Linked DNA regions of Homo sapiens: region 2 is linked to region 1. The links are contacts of gene promoters, found by promoter capture Hi-C in human tissues and cell types (Jung and others, 2019). All regions are on one chromosome and are shown on one strand. The core of a region is centred on a gene start or on the middle of the fragment in contact, and the rest is flanking DNA. Distances in the headings are between cores, read along the strand shown. Region 1 holds the start of PRPF8 (pre-mRNA processing factor 8). Region 2 overlaps PITPNA (phosphatidylinositol transfer protein alpha).

Region 1 (3,556 bases), core at 290-2,789:
TTAAAGCACCAGTCCCAGATCGGGAAGAGAGGGGAAACAGACTGCAAAAGTGGAAGATGTAGAAATTATCAGAGACTCCTACTGGTTTTCTCCTTTCTCTTATATCCACCAAGATGAGCTGTCAAAGCATCAATCCAAGACTGTGGGACAGGGAGAAGGGAAAAGGGCCAAATTCCAAATGAAATTATTTCAGGATGTTCCTTACCCCAAGTAAACCCTTTTGTCATGGCGGAACTTCCTGTTGGTCATGTCTCCATGGTCTCGAATGATCTTCCTGACATGTTCTGGGGGCATGTCTTCCTTCTGGGCATCCACAAACCCAAACTTCCGCTTTTCTGCATAGCGCTTGGCCTGCAATTGCTGCCATTTTCGAGCTGGAAAGGCACCTCAGTTTAAAGGCCTGCACACCCTCCCCCTAATCCTCTTCACCTCTTGCCCTAGGGTAAGCTCCTGTCAGTGAGTGTGAGGGAGAAGCAGGCACCAGCAGGAAGAAGCACCCCTTGCCAATTCCCTTACCATTTTACTCTGTTTTTCCTTTCATCACATTGATCACTATCTGACTTTTTTTTTTTTTTTTGAGAGGTTGTTTCACTCTGTCTCCCAGGCTGGAGTGCAATGGTGCGATGTCGGCTCACTGCAACCTCCGCCTCCTGGGTTCAAGCCATTCTCCTGCCTCAGCCTCCCCAGTAGCTGGGATTATAGACACGCGCCACCACACACGACTCATTTTTGTATTTTTCGTAGAGACGAGGTTTCACTGTGTTGGCCAGGCTGGTCTCGAACTCCTGACCTCAGGTGATCCGCCCGCCTGGGCCTCCCAAAGTGCTGGGATTACAACCGTGAGCCACCGCGCCCGGCCTGACATTTTTATTACAGAGCTTCAAGGTTTTGTTATTCTCTGTCTCTCCCGCTGTAATTTAAACCCCGTAAGGACAGGAATTTTGTCTCCGTCACTACTGTACCCCCGCTGGATCAGCGCTTGCAAATAATACGCGCTTAAAATGACTTGATGAAAAATTAACTGGAAATAACAAGGGAGCTGACACCTCAGGAGCTGCCCAAACGGGGAGGGTCCCCACCCGCCTGCGCGCGCGCACACCCGCCCCGCCTCCGGCCCGCGCGCCGCTCCACACTCTCGCCTCACCTTTCTCCTGCAGCTTCTCCTCCGACATGTAGTCCGGTAGCGGGGCTAGAGGGCCAGGCACCGGGTTACCCGGCCCTCGATAAGGAAACACTCCGGCCATATCCGGAGAATCTGGGGAGCGGCGGGATAGAAAAATTCACTAACCACAGGCCCGGGCCCACAAGAAGCGCAGCAGAAAGGCGTCCGGGGACCCCGGCCTGCAGTCCCGCCACACAGTGCATCCAGCCCCGCCCGGCCTAACCCCTTCGGTCACTCGGCCCGACCCGACCACGCCTCCCGCAGCCCGGCCTTAAACGCCTGCCACGCACCCCACAGGCCCTCACACAAGAGGCCGCTTTCCCCGCAGCGCAATGGCGGCCAGACTGCGTCCGCTCCGCGTTCCCAGCGCCGGGAAGTGCGCAACCCGAGTTCAGCAGTTGATCCAGTCGGCGCCGAGGTGCTCAGATGGATTAGTGAGACGACCAATTAGAGTTGCACACTGCGCCGAGGAGGCGGGCCCATAGGCGGAAAGGCTTTGAACGCAAGGGGGTGTGGTCGGGGTGAAGCCCCGCCTCCTCCATTTCCGAGGCTGTTTCTGGGGCCTCTGACAGACCTCAGCGTGTGATGGGCTCCCGGCGTCGCACTGTGAGAGAGCGAAGTCTAAAGGGTTTGAATAAATTTGCCAAGATTGCGCATTGTACGATGTCTGTTGTCATCAATGTGTACATGCAATGCAGTACTAGCTCCTGGACAGTCATTTGTTCATGCATTCATTCATTTAACCATCACTGTCTACCGAGGACGAGGGATAAAGCAGGAAAAAAGACAACCAGTAGAGTTCACAGGGGAGCAGAAAGGCAGGCAAGAATTAAGACCTTGGCCGGGCGCGGTGGCTCACGCCTGGAATCGCAGCACTTTGGGAGGCCGAGGCAGGCGGATCACTTAAAGCCAGAAGTTCGAGGCCAGCCTGGCCAACATGGTGAAACCCCGTCTCTACTAAAAATACAAACATTAGCCGGGCGTGGTGGCGGGCGCCTGTAGTCCCAGCTACTCGGGAGGCTGAGGCAGGAGAATCGCTTGACCCGGGAGGGGGAGGTTGCAGTGAGCCAAGATCGCGCCACTGCACTCCAGCCTGGGTGACAGAGCGAGACTCTGTCTCGGGGGAAAAAAAAAAGTCTGAAATTCTGTGGAGGGTGCAGAGGAATTGTAACCCATACAGCCCCTGAATCTAGTTGAGAATTTACAAATCAAAGTGAAATAATTAGAAAAAAATTCAAAGGATGTCAATGTGCTTTCAGAACGGTAAAAATTTAAAAAATATTCCTTTTGTTTTTTTGAGACAGGGTCTCACTCTGTTGCCCAGACTGGAGTGCAATGGCGCGATCTCAATTCATCACAACCTCCACCTCCCAGGATCAAGCAATTCTCCTGCCTCAGTCTCCAGAGTAGCTGGATTACAGGCACGCGCCACTACTGCCGGCTAAGTTTTGGATTTTTAGTAGAGACAGGGTTTCACTATGTTGGCCAGGCTGGTCTCAAACTCCTGACCTTACGAAATCCTCCTGCCTCGGCCCTCCCAAAGTGCTGGGATTACAGGCGTGAGCCCCCATGCCCGGCCTGAAATCTATTTTTTAATGCTGGGTGTTCTAAAGGTCCCTACAGTCAAAAAAGACAGAGGAGAATTGTTAAAGATTTGATGGAGATGGATGGATGTGAGGATTTCATAAAGGTAAATGGAGAGGAAGGAAAAAGGTAATCCCAAGTGGTAGAACTACTAGAAAGAGTTAAGAAAGAAGCCGGGCACCGTGACTCATACCTGTAATCCTAGCACGTTGGGAGGCAGCGGCGAGAGGATTGGTTAAACTCATGAGTTTAAGACTAGCCTGGGCAACATACTGAGACCCTCATCTCTACAAATAATAAAAATATTAACCAGGCATAGTGGTACATGCCTGTAGTCCCAGCTACTCGGGAGGCTGAGGTGGGAGGATCATGATGGCACCACTGCACTCCAGCCTGGGTGACAGAGCGAGGCTGGTTTCATAGAAAAAAAGTGGGGGTTTTGGTTTGTTTTTTGTTTTTTGAGGCAGAGTCTCACTCTGTTGCCAGGCTGGAGTGCAGTGTCACAATCTCGGCTCACTGCAACCTCTGCCTCCAGGATTCAAGCGATTCTCCTGCCTCAGCCTCCTGAGTAGCTGGGGTTACAGGCATGTGCCACCACACCCGGCTAATTTTGTATTTTTCGTAGAGATGGCGTTTCTCCATGTTTGTCAGGCTGGTCTCGAACTACTGAGCTCAAGTAATCTGCCTACCTCAGCCTCGCAAATTGCTGGGATTTCAGGCGTGAGCCACCGTGCCAGGCCAAAAAAGGTTTAGATATAGAAACTAACATGGCATGCTCTGAAAATAGGCACCATATCAATCTGGCTGTGC
Region 2 (3,878 bases), core at 1,298-3,797, 130 kb before region 1:
TTGGTTGCTAGAAATCACTGGATCTCACCCATTTAAATAGATCCTAAGACTTGATTTCTTGTCAAAGAAAGGTGCTCAGCGCTCTGTGAAATCCGCAACCTCTATCGTAAAACTGGCTCATCTACTCGCTTCTTCTCTAGTCTTAGGCCTCTCCTCACCCCGCAAGTAGCTCTTTCAGGCAATGAAACCTCTTGACATTTTCCAGATTCCTGGTGGGGCCAAGCAAGTATTCCTGCTTCCCACATGAGATATTACAGATTCCTGCCCCACAGTCTGTGCCGGCTGGGTGCACCCTCTGTGTTGGCACTTACTACATGGCAAAAACCTAGTTTTCCTTTATTTGGGTCACATGCCACCCTATCAAGTCACCAGTCAACATGATTGGCCTCCTCTGACCCTGTCAGGATGGGCCAATGACCTAGGCAGTGCCCAGACTTAGCCCTTCCGCCTTCTTCTCTGAGAAGCTGTCCAGAGGAGAAAACAAGGTGAAAAGAAAATGAACAGCAACATTTGAGGCAGGAAATTATGTCTACACCAACGGATGTGTCTTTCCTACCGCTGCCGGTGCTAATCAGGCATGGCTGCTTAGGGAGTATGAGAAAAAGGAAAAAAGCTATGGGATTACCCAACATGCTGGGGGGTGGAGGGGGACAAAGGGTTTCCTCGAGCTCTATGCCCAACTCCTGGCACCCCCGGGGGGAAGACAAGGGTGTTTCTCTATTTTTTTTTTTTTTTTTTTTTTTTTTTAGACAGAGATCGCACAGTGGTGCGATCTCAGGTCACTGCAACCTCCGCCTCCTGGGTTCAAGTGATTCTCCTGCCTCCTGCCTCCTGCCTCAGCCTCCGAAGTAGCTGGGATTACAGGGACTGGGTTTTTCTCTCTTTGAGATTAAAACAGAAAGGATGTATCTCTAGGCAACTGCTACTTAAATCACTGCCTCCAACAGCAAGGACAGAGGCAGCTTCCAGAGCTGCTTCGCCTCAAACTTAGAAACCTGCTCTACCAGGCAGCTTCCTAAGCACTGCAGGGAAATTTCTGGGCAAAATCTGGAAAGTGAAGCAGAGGACGAGGACAATTCACTGCTCACCACAAGGCTGAAAGAGCCCTAACTTTCAAAGCAAAATCCCAGAACAAAATGCCATGAAAAGGGGCAGCAATCGAGGCTCAGTGAAATCCATACAGAGGAACATATGGGTGAAAGCCAGTCACCTTGACCTTGCTAATCCTAAGCTGCATCAGTGCTGCCTCAATGCCCCCCTGGAGCCCCAAGCTGTCCCTGTGCCTCTCCAAGTCCACCACCCAGCTAGGCACACATGAAAACCCGTCAGGTGGGTCAGGGCTTGGCTGAGCCAGGGGTGCCTAAGAAGGAGCAGTAACTCCGTTTCAGAGAAGAGCCGTAAGAACATCTAACCACTGACTCAGCAATCCTAAAGGACAGGCTGGGGAGAGGGCCTGGTGGAGGGGGCGAGGTTCCCAGCTAGTGGTACCACTTGGGAAGGGGGACCCCAGGCAGAGACTAATCGCCTTCATTTGGTTTCTCTTCAGCTGCAGGAATCAGAGGGCAGGTTCTAAGAGGATCAGCCTGTTGGCTGGCATCTTCCCCCTTCAATCTCTCTTGATATTCTGATCCTTTAATCCCAATGAGACAAGTGAAGGCAGTTTTGTTAATCTAAAGGGGTAAGCAAGACTGGCCTGCACAAGCTACAAGTGAAGGGCGCTTTTCACGTTAGAGTTCCTTTTGGCACAGCTGCTCTGCCCCCTGGGAAAGCAGCCAGACTCGGATGGGGCAGAGATAGGAGTGGGAGGGTCAGATCATTAAATCAGATTTAAAAAACTCCAACAGGACTGGGAATCTAGCCTCCTCAGACCTGCGATGATGTTCCTTGCTCTTGAGATCTGTTCACCTATCCCAGAGAACTAAGACATTCAACTAAGAAAAACAGACTCCACAACTTTGGCAATCTGGGAGGGGGAGCCCAGTGGGTGGGCCTGAAATACTGACATGAAACACGTCATAAACAACAGTACAGCTTTGGTCCCACCAACATGGCCCTGTCAGGCTGGGTACCAGAGGGGGACTGGTGCCGTGAATCTCTGGAAACAAGAAGTGAAGCAGCCCGGCCGACCTGTGCCAGGAAGCACTGGTGGACACACCCCGTCAAACAGCCAGGGCTTTCTCGCTCTGCTGCACAACGCCCAGACACTCAGGGTTAGACCAAAGGCTCTGGCCACCCAGAAGCTAATTCTGCCCCCAAAATATTGATGCAGGCCATCGGAATGATTACAAAGGCATGACCTTCTCTTTCCCTTTCTTCACTTTCCCCTAAATCAGAAAACTGCAAAGGCCTCAAGTCATGGCCTCCAATTTAGGAAGTGAATCCACCAGTCACAAGATGCTGAGCTGTTCCCATAGAAACTGTTAAGTCAGGATGGGGATGGGGTTACTGACAAAGACTCTGAGAAGGTTGATCATGAATTGTTTCTTCTTCGGCCTTCCCCTCCAAGATTTTTCTAATTCTCTGAAACTAAGTTCCGCTTCGACCCTACCCAGGCCACGTGGTACTTTCTTGTCAATGGTTTCTTGCTGAGAACGGGCTGACCACTGCCAGGCAGACAGGTGAATCCTGATCAGCACTCACTTCCCAAGCTTCTGCTTAGACTTCAGGCTCTGATTACTCAACTCCGCCCCACCACTTCCTCAATGCTGCAGAAAAACCATCACAAGTGAACACCCGCCAACTGTGGATGCTCTCAAGGTGGAAGTTCCCCTTTCCTTCCAGTCTTGGCCCCACCATAAGCCATCAGTGTCTGGCCCTTCAGCCTTACTCCAAGAACAGCCCCAGGTGCTCCAGGACAGGCTGGCCCTCCTTGGTCTGCAGCACTTCTCAGAGACACTCTCGCCCTTCGTTCCATCAAGAAACTCCCTATCAAAGGATCCATTTCACCCCTAATCACCACACTAAGGAAATCCCGAGTTCCTGGGGCACATCTTCCTAACGATCGGGGTGGGATCATCCTGTACAGCAGAGAGGACGTCACTGGACACCTCCCCAAGAGCTGAGTTTGAGGGCAAGGGACGCGCTGGGCTTTCCTGCTTGGCCTTCTGGTTTGGAAAATCATCGCTTGCTATTTTCAATAAAGACAGCACAGGCTGGGTGAAGTGGTTGACATCTGTAATCCCAGCACTCTGGGAGGCTGAGGCAGGAGGACTACTTGAGGCAAGACCAGCGTGGACAACAGAGTGAGACCCTATCTCCACTATTTAAAATAAATATTATAAAATAAAAAAAATAAAGACAGCATGGCCAAAGCAGGTGGGTTAACAAGACCCTTCCAAGCCAACACCTGTCAGCCCAGGCACCTGGTTCTCAGGCCCCAGGTACATCCCCAGTGCCTACAGGGATTAGAGCCATCTACCCAGCCATTCCCTCATTCTCCCTGGTTCCCAGGTTCCCCAGTCTCGTTTCTCTTTTCTGCCCTTCCCAGAACCCCAAGATCACGGTCAAGGCCCACCTCTGGCCCCCTCCCCAGGTCCCCACAGCTCTTATCAGATATGTAGCCCACCCCTGGAGGCAGTCCTCTAAAGGGCCAGTGTCTGCCCACCCCTCTCGGGGGCCAACAAGCCTGGATGTCTGTCTCAACTAAATGTGCTGCAGGCTCTGCTGGCCTGATTTCATTTTTCAAAGGTGCAGTTCATATTGGGAACAGAGTGGAAGTTATCACAGGAGCTTCATGCTGACACTGCAGGAAAGAGAGACGGAGCCCAGTGACTGGAGGCACTATACTGGCTGACGAACCTCACCCAAACTCGAGTTTAACTGGAAGCTGGGGCGGGGTGGGGCTGTGATTTCAGAAGGAAGCAAAGAACAAGGCTGCG

The links. The method cuts DNA at HindIII sites, captures the fragments that hold promoters and counts their contacts. A contact is called where the count stands out against the background at its distance.
Region 2: a fragment that was not itself captured here is called in contact with the fragment with the promoter of PRPF8 in region 1 in 1 of the 25 tissues and cell types used here (dorsolateral prefrontal cortex).

What each region holds. Positions count from the first base shown.
Region 1 is chr17:1,683,328-1,686,883 of GRCh38, forward strand. PRPF8 (pre-mRNA processing factor 8) reads right to left here and starts at 1,540. Exons shown (of 43, transcript NM_006445.4): 1 at 1,453-1,540; 2 at 1,145-1,255; 3 at 206-374. The coding sequence starts at 1,244. The HindIII fragment of the contact is 7,907 bases long and covers 1-2,764 here.
Region 2 is chr17:1,553,671-1,557,548 of GRCh38, forward strand. All of the region lies in intron 2 of PITPNA (phosphatidylinositol transfer protein alpha), which reads right to left. Among named protein-coding and RNA genes, the nearest start is that of PITPNA, 7.2 kb to the right of the region's middle. RefSeq lists an enhancer at 2,146-2,215 and a silencer at 2,632-2,832. The HindIII fragment of the contact is 8,751 bases long and covers 1-3,878 here.